3 separate regions of the Homo sapiens genome follow, and all the other regions are linked to region 2. Evidence: promoter capture Hi-C in 16 types of primary human blood cells and fetal thymus (Javierre and others, 2016). All regions are on one chromosome and are shown on one strand. The core of a region is centred on a gene start or on the middle of the fragment in contact, and the rest is flanking DNA. Distances in the headings are between cores, read along the strand shown. Region 1 overlaps GACAT2 (gastric cancer associated transcript 2). Region 2 holds the start of ZBTB14 (zinc finger and BTB domain containing 14). Region 3 overlaps NDUFV2 (NADH:ubiquinone oxidoreductase core subunit V2).

Region 1 (4,463 bases), core at 1,490-3,989, 3.4 Mb before region 2:
GCTCTGGGGGCACTGAGACCTCGCCTGCTCTGCTGCTGTTGTGGTCTTTGTGAGTCGTTTTTCTGGGAATGCCTCTGAATGGGAGACAGCACGCACGAAATCCAATCTCTACGAAATCCAATTCCTTAATCTCCTTTGAGGCTAATGCCCTAGCCGTTTCTCCAGCGTTGGGAGAAGGACACTGTTGGCTCCACGGTGGGCGTGGATGACGGCACACCTCGAAAGGCTTGAGAGGTGTTGGCCACCGCTCGCGCCGGGCCTGCTGTCCCCAGAGGGCCCTCTAGCTCTGCCCTTCCGTGGGAGGGGGCCCGCGGTCGGGCCAGAGCACAACTGACCTCTGCCTAGAACTTCCTCCAGAGGCTCTGAAGCCTCCCACACCCTCACATTTCCGAAGAATTATGGCCAGGACTCTCAGCACAAGCTTGCCAGCTTCTCATACCATATACACTCAAAGAAAGGGCCCCCCAAAAAAGTTTCAATACGCTAGTCTTCTAAAGACAGTAGCTTGATGACTATAGGATTTGCAGCCAGCTTCTCTTTCTTTCAGGTAATAAGTCAGATAAAATTCATCCTCCTTACTACTTATTATTAGCCTGGCAAATGAGACTACTAGCCCTTTGTAAGGAAGTATTCAATCAATGCTTTCTCTTTTTTTTTCTTTTTTCTTCCTTTTTTTTTTTAAGAGATGGGGTCTTGCTATGTTGCCCAGACTGAAGTCAAACTTCCTGGGCTTAAGCCATCTTCCCACCTCAGCCTCCCAAGTAGCTGGGACTACAGGCATGCACCACCCAGCCCAGCCAATAATGCCTTCTTTGTTTTCCAGTATTCAGTGAGTTACAGGTATAAAGAGATATCTGATTGCATAATAGATGTTTTTTAAAGTCACTCAAAAAAAAAAAGAAAAGAAAAGAAAAAGAAAAAGTGGTCCAGGCGTGGTGGCTCACGCCTGTAATCCCAGCATTTTGGGAGGCCAAGGTGGGCAGATAGCTTGAGCTCAGGAGTTGGAGATCAGCCTGGGCAACATGGCAAAATCCTGTCTCTACCAAAAAAACACAAAAATACAAAAATAAGCTGGGCATGGTGGCATACACCTGTAGTTCCAGCTACTTGAGAGGCTGAGGCAGGAGGCTCCCTCAAGCCCAGGAGGGGAGGTTGCAGTGAGCCATGATCATGCCACTGCACTCCAGCCTGGGTGATGGGAGTGAAACCCTGTCTCAAAAAAATGGGAAGGAAGGAAGGGAGGGAAGGAGGCAGGGAGGGAGGGAGGGAAAGAAGGGAAGGGAAGGGAGGAAGGGAAGGAGGGAGCAAAGAAAGGAAATACTTGATTTTAAATTCTTTTTCTGTTAAATCAAATTAATCTAAAGGTAATAGAGGATTTACTATTTAAGGGAACCATAGAGTGCTTATTCTGTGAAATAACAAAACCCAGCATGGGCGTGCCTGTTTTCATCTGCGTGCCCTCAGATCCAGTCTTGCCCCTCTGCTACTCTGATGTGAGTGGAAGTGTGGGTTTCCAGGCCGCTGGGTTTGCTGATTGGGTTTGGCCAGTGGAGGTGCCGTCAGGAGATGGGAGTGGACCCAGAAGGAAGAAACCAGGTTATTTCTTACTCTCTCTGCTGCAGGCGGCTTCTCTGGCAGTGGCTGGGTCTCTGTGAGGAGTGGATTTCTGAGGTTCCAGCCATCACTGGATGGACTACTCCTCCTGGTAGCTTTTCGTCCTCCACTGCCTCGTATCAAGGGTGGTGGTGCCTTCCTGTGCTTGCAGATCTCCGGGTTGCTTCACTGTGGCTGATTCCCTGCATTGCAACCCTGGATTGTAAATGCTGGCACAAGGCCCAGGGCCCCATCGTCTCATTCCTCTGCAGAGGCCCAAATACTGTCCTAGGGAGCTGCGTGCAGCAGTGGTGTGATGAGTAATGTTTGTGTGGCTGTGTTCACAACCTCTTTGTCCAAGAACGGTGTGGTATGGTGACAAGACCTGAGGCTTTGACACCAGGTAAATCTGGGTTCAAATCCTGCCCAAGTCATTTGCTGTCTGTGTGGCCTTGGGTAAGGTATTGTTATCAAGTCATCATCATCATTTAACACCAGTGAAATAATCTTCAGAATCATCATCATTATTTAACACCAGTGAAATAATCTTCAAAACTCTTAAAATATGAGCAAACCAGATTTTTCACTCAGATTCCAAACTCTCACTCAGAGAGTTAGAAATCTATTCTGTGTCTATACAGTTATATAAAGAGAAATGAATTCTTTTTTTACTTGGTTTGACTCATAGACAAAAAAAAAAATGTGACTTACTCAGGACTATACTTCACTCTATACTCCCAGGCAGAATTATATGCAGAATTTCTATACCTTTAATACATTGTCCAAACCCAGGCATATGTGTATCTTCCAGTTTTTCCCCTTATTTTAACAGAAAGGCACATTTAAAATATGAAAGCATTCCTGGTTGAAGTCATGAGAAATCATGAAATCATACTCTTTGAAAAGAATGGAAAGAAGAGGGAATTTTTCAGAGTGAGTGGCTTTTTGGGCACTGCAAGAAAGTTAACCTTAAAAAGAGACAACCTAATAATGCCTGATCCCCCCGCCTCCCCACCACCCGCCAAGGTTGAAGCTGGAGTCTGCATCCAACACTGGGGTCTGTGGGGACCTCCCAGCTCTCTTTGCAAGGGTGATTGCCAAAATGCCACATGGGACCTGAAAAAGGCTTCATGTCCAGATTGGCAGCTGTGCATGGCATTGGTGGTGACAATGACAATAACTTAAGAGGCTCTTAAACCTTGAGGTCATTAAAATCTCCTGGTGAGACTGTTAAAAATGCAAATTATCTGGCCACATCCCCAGGGATCTGATTTAAGAGATATGAGCCCAGAAAGCTGTATTATTATTATTATTATTATTATTATTATTATTATTATTATTTTGAGGTGGAATCTTGTTCTGTTGCCCAGGCTAAAGTGCAGTGGAACGATCTTGGCTCACTGCAACCTCCGCCTCCTGGACTCAAGCGACTCTTCTGCCTCAGCCTCCTGAGTAGCTGAGATTACAGGTATCCGCCACCACGCCCAGCTAATTTTTTGTATTTTCAGTAGAGACAGGGTTTCGCCATGTTGGCCAGGCTGGTCTCAAACTCCTGACCTCAAATGATCCGCACGCCTCAGAGTCCCAAAGTGCTGGGATTACAGGTGTGAGCCACTACGCCCGGCCGGAAGGCTGTATTTTTAACAAATACTTTTGATGCAAGTAATTATCTTACTTCCCATTGAAAAACACTGTGTTAGTGTTTCTTTTTTCTCTCTTCCTTCTTTTTTTTTTTTTTTTTTTTTTAAAAAGACAAGGTTTTGCTTGGTCACCCAGGCTGGAGCAGAGTGTGCAATCATAGCTCACTGCAGACTCCAAATCCTGGGCTCCAGTGATCCTCCCACCTCAGCTTGCCAAGTAGCTGAGACCACAGACACATGTGTTAGTGTTTCTACACAGGTCCAAGTGTCACATGGCTTGTCATGTGCGTTCTTCCTATTTCTGTTCAAAACTCCTTCCAATACTGTGCGGGATGACCCACCTCTATGCATGTGAGATGCTGGGTGATGGATATTTGCTCACTTAAATCTGAACTAGAGAGTCCCAACCTAAGGTGTGCTCTAGAGTCTGCTGGGAGAACAGGGGAGTCTCCCTGTGACATGAGAACCAGAGGAAGTAGAGAGGTGAAGGTGTAAGGAGGCCCTTTCCCTCCTGACCAGTGGTTCTTCATGGGGGTGGAAGCACCCACAGGGAGCATTCTAGACGTATATTGGGGTGTTTTCTCTTGTCATAACAACTGGATTGGAGGGCACTACTGGCATTTAAGTGAGGGAAGGGGAATAGTCAGGGGGGCTAGATATCTTGCAGTGTGCCCAGAGAAGGGTCGTCCTAGGCGGGATGAGGTGACTCACACTTGTAATCCTAGCACTTTGCGTGGCTGAGGTGGTGGATCACTTGAGTCCAGGAGTTTGAGACCAGCCTGGCCAACATGATGAAACCCTGTCTCTACTAAAAATACAAAAATTAGCCTGTCATGGTGGCATGTGCCCGTAATTCCAGCTACTCGGGAGGCTGAGGTGGGAGAGTCGCTTGAACCGAGGAGGCAGAGGTTGCAGTGAGCTGAGATCTCGCCACTGTACTCCAGCCTGGGTGATGGAGTGAGACTCCATCTCAGAAAAAGAAAAAAAAAAAGAGTCATCTCTCCTGCTACAGGACTTCCAAGTAAGAGTCCTCTGAAACATTCACGTGGGTAAAAAAATCTGTTTATCATTATCTAAGGCTAGAAGTACATGTTTTACACATAAACACAATACTTTTACATATAAAGCAGTATTTTTTAAGTTTTTAAAATATTTTTTAAAAGTTAATATAACTATTAATTGACAAATCATAATTATCATAATTACATTGACAGAGTACACCGTGTTGTT
Region 2 (4,498 bases), core at 518-3,017:
TCCTTACAAGTGCCTTATTAGGTGCTTTCCATAGCTCTCCTTCAGCTGAGGTTTAGAGAAGTTAAACAATTTACCCAATATGTGAACTGGATATGTCTGACTCTACAACCGGTCTCTTCCATCCTATTTCCTCCATATAAGCCGTAACTTGGGTGCTTTTGTGAACATCAAAAAAGATGCGTATAAAGTCGCCTTGGGGAACGTTAAACCAAAGTCAATTAACATTACAAAATCAACTGAGGCCATATAGAACTTCCTTTAGAAAATTAACACATCCAATCATCATATTATTTCCCAAATGTTTACTTAGGTGCCTGTTGCAAGCACTATCTTATGTCATCTTCAATAAGCCCAAGAGGAAGCTTCTGCTCTAATCTTTAGATATTAAATTACGCGTTTCGGGGAAACTTCGCGTGTGAGGTAAAGCAACATGAGCGACTCTAAGGCGGCGCGGCATTGCTGTCCGGCCTCCTGCATCTCGGTGAGCAGAAAACGCGGGAGCGGGAGGGACTTCCCAGCTCCCGACGCCAGACACAGGCACAGCCGCCGCGTCAGAGGGAAGGCGACGTGGTTCAACAGCAACGGAGCCATTACTGGCGCTGAGCAGGGATGTTAAGGACAGAGCCAAGTTATCAGAGCTCTCCGAATCGAGTCCAGGGTCTGGACTGCCACAGACGGGTCGCCGCCTCCAGCCCCTGGACTTTTCCTTGGAGTGTCCGGGCGCGGACCTACTAGCTCCGAAGCCCTATGGGTGATCCCTTTCTGCTGGGCAACTGGGGTTGCGCTTTACACTACAAATCGAAGACGTCGCTTTTTCCATTTGTTCTGCAAGTGTTTATTGTGCACCGTCCACTCCCCCACAAACTCAATGTGCCGGCGGCAAGAGGCAAGACCGCAGACCCGTGGGCGCGCCTCCCGGTGTCGGCCGGTGTGCGCGGAGGGCGAAAGTGGCCGGGGCGCCCGCTCCGAGACGCGGCAGAGCCCCGCAGCCTCAGCGCCCGGCCTGCGCGCGCCCGGGGGAGGCTCTGGCCCACGCACATGCACACGCACGGGAGCGCTGGCTCCCGCGTCCCCGGCGCTGCGCCGGCGCCGGGCGCGGGCGGAAGCCCACGAACCAGGGCGGGAGGGAGCTTGAGGCGGGGCGGGTGTCCGCGAGCAGCGCTCGTGCTTAAGTTCCCTGGCTCCCGAAGCCCCGCCCTTGCCCCGCCCACTCCTTCTCCCGCGCGCGGGCTCCGCGCGCCCCAAGCCGCGCGCGTGCGCGCGCGTGCGCAGGCCAGGGCCCTCCGGGGGCGGCCCCGTAGTCTCCAACGAAAGCGTCGGCAAGGGCCCGGATTAACCCTTTCTTTGCTCGCCCACTTAGAGACCCGGTCGGGTTCCGTGCCTGCGCAAGCCGGCGGCGCGCCTTCCCCCCAGCCCGCACCGCGCATGCACGGGAAGGGGGGGGCGGTGGGGGTGTTCACGGCCGGCTAGACATTCTGTGCTCGTGCAGGAGGAGGGCTGCTACCATCAGGGACGTGCACGATTTCCCCCACCCCGCCCCCTCCCCAAACTCCAAAAAAAAATCCAAAACACACTGCCACCCACCGTGCCCCCGCGCCCCGAGCCCCTCCGGTCCCGGCCTGCGTTTGCTAGCGAGCGCGGGGAACCCACGGCAGTGTCTGTGCCTGTGCCAGGCTGCAGGTAAGCGCGGGCCAGGGTGCGGAAGGGGCTGGGGCCGTCCGCAAGGCGGGCGCGGGGGCGGCCGGCGGCTGGCGGGGCGGCCCGGAAGACGCGCGTTCTCGCCGAGCTCTGGGGCACCAGCCAGCTCCAGGATGTGCGGCGGCCGCCAGCGGCGCGGCGCGGTGCGAGCGGGGACGGGCGTGGGCCAGGGTTGGGCGTGGGGCCGGGGCGCCCCGGGGGCCGCGCGGGCCGGCGAGCGGGCTCGGGGAGCGGCCAGGCGGCGGCGGCCCCGCGCGCGCGCTCGCAGAGCCTCGGCGGCCGAGTTCATGGCCGCCCCCGCTCGCACCGCCGCAGTGCACCGCGGTGGGGGTGGGGACGGCCCGAACCCAGCGCGGAGCGCGGCCCGCCGGGCGCCGCCCCTCCGAGCCGCGGGCCCCGCCGCGCCGCCTACAGCCGCCGGCGGAGGAGGGGGCCGGGACCCAGCGCACGCACTCCCGGGTGCGCCCGCGGAGCTTGGGTTAGCCGGCCGCGCGCCGCCCCCGCCCCCGGCCGCGGGAGGGCGGGGGAGGGCCCGGCGCGAGCTGGCCGGGGAGTGCGCGGGGCGCGAGCTCCGGGCTCGCGGGCGGAGCGGGGCGCGGCGCGGCGCGGGGCTGCGGAGCCGGCCGCACGCCCGCTCCCGCTCGTCGCGCCGCCGGGGCCGCCGCGGGCCGCAGTCCCTCCCTGCGCGCTCCGAGCCGCGGTCCCAAGCCTGCGCTCGACGTCTGATTATGAAAGGGAAAGTGGCCCTTTCACCACCTGGCTCCCAGGCTGGGAGCTTTTGTCTGGGAAGGAGTGCAAACGGCCTCCTCCACTCCCCACCTCCCAGGCCCAAAGAAATTGAGAGGGAGGACTCGATACGCCTTGAGGGCTTCTTGGGTCTGCGCTTGGCTCCCTGCTTCCTCCCGACTCCGAAGTTGCAAGCTTGCAACAAGGAAGTCGTGCAGCCGCCATTGTCGGGCTGCCCGGGGCAGGGGAGGCGGCTGCAGCTGCTTATGTAAGTTTTTGGCTTTGCGGGAAGCCCGGCTCCCTGCACTGTAACGCGGCTTAGCGCGCCCGCAGTTTGGAGAGCAATTAGGAAGGGGCAGCCTTATTATGAAGGTGGTGTTGGGGCTACGTCTTTTCCTACACCTGCCTACACAGATGCTGGCAACAGCTGTCTTCCAGTTTTGACTCACCTGAACTGAGCAATTGGACATCTCAATGGCAAGGGGGGCGGGGCGGGGAGGAGGCGGCTTTGGACACACATGGTCTCTCTTCCAGGTCTCATACATCTTGAGAGAGAGAGGGGAGAGGGGCGAGTGGCCAAGTACACACTAGCCAAAACAACAACAACACATTGATATGTTGTCATAGCTAGTCTAAGGCCACTCCTCTCTCTGGTCCCATGCACTTTTATCCCACAAGCCCTAGGACGAGTTAGTGACAACAGTAGTAAGTGTCACAGTGTAAGGTTTTTGCTGGGCTGCCTAGCCTCTGGATGATTACAGGCCTGGGTGCTTCTAGGGAATAGAGAGGCAGAAACACGTAGAATGATCAAGTCAGAATCATCTTTTGGAAATGTTGCCTAACCTCAAACTTCAGATGAGACATCCCGCTTCTACGCTGGGTAGCTCGGTGTGTTCACTTTTCTTTAGAAGGAGCTTATTATGGGTTTCAAGGTGTTGGTCTCCAGGTTGGAGTCTTGTTCCATGGTTTTTGTGTAAGACTGTTACAGCCCAGTCCTTTGCTCCTACCACACCAAACAACTTATCTGTGTGGTCACTGTTCAGTAGAGGAAACTTTTTGTTTTTCAGGATATGGGTCTGCAGGATGGAGTTCTTCCGGTAAGAGTTAAAACTCACAAAAAAGCTGAAATTCTTTCACCCTTATTGTAGGGATAGAGGTAAAAACACCTGGATTTATCAAATACAATCTTAAAAACAAACGTGTATGCTATTAATACATCACACAGGTGCAGAAAGAAAAAGCAATCATTGTTCCCTCTCCTCCCATGTTACCTGTTGGGTTTATGTACTTCTATAGCTTTATTTGTAAGGTATATACTTCTATAGGTTTGTATGAGCCGAGAGAAAAATGTAGAGGGCTAACATACCCAGCGGGAAATGGGATAGGTGTAGGGGGCACGGTGCACTTGTTTTTTTCTATATCTGTGTAGCCATCAATCTCTGTACAAATATGGACATGAGCTTAGTGTGTGAGGAGAAATCCCTTAATGGTTCTCCAACCCCTCCTTCCAGTTCCTAGGGCACAGCCCCTTTATGCCCGAGTGCTACAGCCCTTATCTGTTCTAGTCCATATCTGTTCAGAACTGCACTTGATGTACCAGCTACCTACCTGCCACTCTCCCCAACCTGAAAATGCACAAAAGAGGGAACAAGAAAGTTTATTTTTAAAAAATCAATTCTTGGTTTAGGATTTGGGATACAGGAAGATCCTACCTCATTCTTGTTTATCCTTTCCTCTGTAGGTCTGGCGTGCTCCTGATCAGAGTTACTCTGATCTGAAGATTTTGGCGTTCAAGGCATTAAGATAATAGCCTGAGTTGTTCATGGTAACTATAACTTTGGATATTAAATCTTGATGAAAATGACTTGGCATTTGCTTTAAAATATATATACCAATTCTGATTGTGCATGAACACTTCTATTTGTCTGGGGGAAAATATTAGCCGAATAAAAGTAAAACAATGTTTTTAAAAAGGAAACATAGAGAATGCTTTAAGATGACCAGTTTTTTAACATGATGACAGAGATCTTTCATGCCAGTTCCAAATTTTTGCTTATAAAATACTCTCAGCACT
Region 3 (4,473 bases), core at 1,716-4,215, 3.8 Mb before region 2:
AATAAAATGGGTCATCCATAGCATTTCTATAGGTCGTTGATTCCAAAGTAGCATAATCAAATTGTATAAATATCACCTATTATACAGATTTTTCTTACAGCCTACAGCCAAAGATGTAAAATATTAAAAATTTTCATACTAGTGAGCAGATCTTCTTTTCTGTAATTCTAGTGTTTAAATATTACATTAATTTTCAGAATATCTTGACACTAAGTTATACACATTTGGAATCTTTTATCTTTGACCATTTCCTTCAAAAGGAAAAAAAAAAACACATACCCTCTTTCACCATAATGCCTTCCTTATTTCCTGCAAGGTTAGAAATCACCTCTATGCATTAAGGGAATGAACAAAAACACAAAGACAATTCAAGGAAACATACAAATGGCTAAAGGGCTCCAAAATCCTAGATTCTGACACTGGAGATGATCAGAGTAATTTCTATAAAAGGAAATTATCATACACAATCTCTTCTCTTTTAGAACTAAGGCAAAAATGAATCCAGTACCTTGTTCATAGCAGAGATGGGCAACCACCCATTCTGCCTTTGGGCTAAATCCAGGACTGGAAGAACAGCTGCTGCTTTATGGCCTTCTGGATAGTTTTTTACAATTGCCTCTATCCTCTGTATAAAAGAAAGAACATCATTTTATACATCTAGAAAATATTACCTATTTGGTAAATTAATTATAATGTTAATTTAGCCATACCTTATAGTTTTCTGGTGTGAAATCAAATGGAGTATCAGGGTTATTCTCAGGAGTATCTCTGTGCTACACAACAAAAACAGTTTTTCAGACTTATCCAAATTCTCTCAAGTGTGAATGACACTGTACATTACTATACTATTACTTATTGTTTAATCTCTCCATTTTAATTCCAACATGATATATACCACCCTATCCTTCCATCAAAAAGAATGTCTAAACACACATTTGATAAGTATGATTACCAAAGTAAAGTTAGCAGAATTTAAAAATTTACAAAGGACCATTTAAAGAATAAGAGAAGTACCTTTAGGACCAAAAAAACCCAAACAACAAAAAGTGTTATCCAGCTTCATTAGAGAGTAAGATCTTCTGATAGAATTACCAAAACATTACCAATTATTGGAAGCCTTTATGAAATTAAAACACAAAATTTTAAATGTGAACATATGTGTATTTTCCCAAAAGCAAGGTTATCAGATTGTCAAAGGGATCTGGGATCCAAAAGGGTTAAGACCCATTACTTTAGGAGGGTACAAAAGGACCATCTTAAAAAAAAAAAAAAAAAAAAAAAAACAGCACCATCTCTTTCCCACGTTTTCCATAATAGCCAACAGCAAGAAGCTTTATCTCTTCTTAAAAGAGCAGAAGCAGGCCCTCTTCAAAAACTGACAAGAAATGGCATGTCAACAGGAAATCAAATGAGTCACACTGAGATTAACACTTACGATCAATTAATGTTATGTATGTGTGGTGAATACAGAAATGAATCTCTTGATATGTTAACTCTCGGAGTTCTGCTTTTTAAAGGACATAAGCCAAAAGAGGAAAGAAAACAGACACTCTGGACAATGATCTCAAATATGTGGCCAATTTGATGCTTGATATATAGCAGGAAGCTACTTCTTACACCACTAACTCTAAATCATCACACAAGTCCACTATATTGCCTTTATACTAGATTAATCCCTGAAAACAGCACCTTGTCAGAAAAGGGAGATATAATATCTTATCCTTTCCAAATTGTGCAACTAATCTGGGGAGTTCACAGACTTCTATTTATAGTTAAAACTCCGGAAACTAAAAATATAAAGACCAGCTGCTAATCTAGTTACTACATTACTAAAATCCATGAGTTTCAAACTAGTGTCATTTTGGGATTCAACAAGTTACAATCTCCAAACTCTCAGTAAGCCAACATGACTGAGAACCCAAAGTGTGATGAGAATCAGGTTAGGGCTCACACAGTAATTTCACTGGAAATAAATTCTTATTCCCAGAGTTTTCCTGATACTAATTTAAACTCATGAGGTTCAACTGGAACCAACATCTTTTGAAATGTAGTAAATTCAATTAGCTGTATGTAAATTCTCACGATGACCATCATATATCAAAGACAATGGTATTTAAGATATTTTGGATTTTTACAATGGATTTACCCCAATTTCCAAGTCTTTTCTTTCCAAAGAAATCTAAGTAATTACTTACCACAAATAAAGCTCCTCCAGCTCCATTTTGCATAACTGTCTTATGCAAATTCCTTACATGTCTTCCCTAAAATTTAAAATTTTAAGAAAGTTTAGTAAATCATAGCCTTAAAAAATTTTTCATAAAGAAATACTTTAGGATTCATAATTTACAACAATGGAATCAACTTATAAAAGATCTTAAGAAATATGGTATTCTACCCTATCCATCTCTATTTCAGGAGAGTTATTTTACAAATGGAGATTCAAAGCCAAGATTCACCCACCTAACATCACACACACGAGTCAATAGGAGAACCAGGACAACCCAGATCTGCTGACTTGTGTACCTTCCTGCCACGCTCTGCTGGCATGCATTTGGAGAATTAATGTACTATTAACTTCTTGACTTTCACTTTTGTCTGAATCAACTTGGATGCCAGCTTTCACTTAGTGTGAACCTTCATAAACATGTTTTCATTCTGTACAAATGAGTCATATACTCTGTACAAATGAGTCAACTGTATCCTCCTTCCTTTTCAATCCTTTACTAAATTAGTTCTGAAACTCCAGCCGTAAAAAGTAGTTTCTGGCCGGGTGTGGTGGTTCATGCCTGTAATCCCAGCACTTTGGGAGGCTAAGGCAAGGAGATCACGAGGTCAAGAGATCGAGACCATCCTGGCCAACATGGTAAAACCCCATCTCTACTAAGAACACAAAAATTAGCTGGGCGTGGTGGCGCACGCTGGTAGTCCCAGCTACTCGGGAGGCTTAGGCAGGAGAATCGCCTGAACCTGGGAGGCAGAGGTTGCAGTGAGCCGAGATCGCGCCACCGCACTCCAGCCTGAGCAGCAGAGCAAGGCTCCGTCTCAAAAAAAAAAAAAAAAGTAGTTTCAGAAAGCTATTTATGATGCTATGCGGACTGACAATGTTCAGTTGCTTTGGAAGGAATCTGATTATTCTCTCAGCTGCATTTCATTTCTCTTTGCCCTCTTGCTCCTACCCTCCACTCCTACCCTGTCCCCCGCCCCCAAGTATTTCAACTACTGTTCTGGATTCCTCCAATTTCTGAGTTCTACTAACCACAGACGGCAGAACACTGGCTGGGTTAAACCAAGCATGGAACTAGCAAAGAGTTGGACAATTCAAAGGCAAACATAGAAGAAAGTAAACGGAGTAATATAACACAATAGTATATTTAACTTTACCCTAGGTCCAAATGATATTTCAGTTGAAGAAATATTAATAAATAAGTTTACATGGAACATCTGCTTTAATTAACAAGAAAAGACTAAGGTACAGGATGTGAGACACACGTACAAAAGATGGGAGTGATAAATATCAATTTCAGGATAATTGGAAGGCAGGGAGGGATACAGTCAGAGGTGCACAAGGGGGCTTTGATTGTGTTGGTTTTGTTTTGAAAAATTAACTGAAACTAAAATTTAGAAGACAGTCACTGTCATCTTAGCTCAGAAAATTTTTTTAATCGAGTAACAATTTTTGAGTAACATCAGTGAGTTACTTAACTAAATTCTGAGAGAAAAGACTGTATACTTATAATAAAAGGATTAATTTTAAGAGTAGGGAAAGTATTCAGTCTTCTCCTAATTTCTGAACACTAACATTTTCTGTTTATTGGCTTTTTATCCACTCCTTGCAGGCTGTCCTCAGGGCTCAGTTCACACTCCTATCTTCTTTTCTCTATAAAGCCTTTGCCTCTGAGAACTCATCCATTAACTTGACAGTGATGAGTCTTAAATCTTACACACATTTGATGACAAGAGGCTAATAGCCTGAAGAGATCATAAATGCACTTAAAAAATGAGTAAAGATCATGAACAAAAGTTTCACAGAATTCAAACTGCTTACTAGTAACTAAAAACATACAACTTAAAATAACATTACTAGTTATCAAACTACCAAGTATCTTTTTTCTTTTAAGATAGCATTCCATTCTGTTGAGCATATAGAGAAACAAGCACACTTAAAAATTCATATAGCCTTTTAGAAAGCAAATTACCATGATATATGGAAAGCCTAAATAAGTGTCTTTTTTTTTTTTTGGAGACGGAGTTTCGCTCTTGTTGCCCAGGCTGGAGTTCAATGGCATGATCTCGGCTCACCACAACCTCTGCCTCCCGGGTTCAAGCGATTCTCCTACCTCAGCCTCCCAAGTAGCTGAGATTACAGGCATGTGCCACTACGTCTGGATAATTTTTTGTATTTTTAGTAGAGACGGGGTTTCTCCATGTTGGTCAGGCTGGTCTTGAACTCTCGATGTCAAGTGATCTGCCCGC

What was found. The method cuts DNA at HindIII sites, captures the fragments that hold promoters and counts their contacts. A CHiCAGO score of 5 or more calls a contact.
Region 1: a fragment that was not itself captured here is called in contact with the fragment with the promoter of ZBTB14 in region 2 in 1 of 17 cell types (activated CD4 T cells); the score reaches 5.4 in activated CD4 T cells.
Region 3: a contact is called between a fragment that was not itself captured here and the fragment with the promoter of ZBTB14 in region 2, in 1 of 17 cell types (total CD4 T cells). The highest score is 5.6, in total CD4 T cells.

What each region holds. Positions count from the first base shown.
Region 1 is chr18:8,699,132-8,703,594 of GRCh38, reverse strand. The region is part of intron 1 of GACAT2 (gastric cancer associated transcript 2); the gene reads left to right. Among named protein-coding and RNA genes, the nearest start is that of MTCL1, 4.2 kb to the left of the region's middle. The HindIII fragment of the contact is 4,632 bases long and covers 424-4,463 here.
Region 2 is chr18:5,292,995-5,297,492 of GRCh38, reverse strand. It overlaps ZBTB14 (zinc finger and BTB domain containing 14), which reads left to right and starts at 1,767. Exons shown (of 4, transcript NM_001243702.2): 1 at 1,767-1,841; 2 at 3,492-3,521; 3 at 4,166-4,249. The coding sequence starts at 4,247. RefSeq lists enhancers at 559-718, 436-1,121, 1,810-2,496, 2,497-3,184 and silencers at 929-1,348, 1,429-2,368. The HindIII fragment of the contact is 2,257 bases long and covers 365-2,621 here.
Region 3 is chr18:9,115,626-9,120,098 of GRCh38, reverse strand. NDUFV2 (NADH:ubiquinone oxidoreductase core subunit V2) reads right to left here. Exons shown (of 8, transcript NM_021074.5): 2 at 2,196-2,261; 3 at 711-773; 4 at 509-625. Among named protein-coding and RNA genes, the nearest start is that of NDUFV2, 15 kb to the right of the region's middle. The HindIII fragment of the contact is 3,264 bases long and covers 1,334-4,473 here.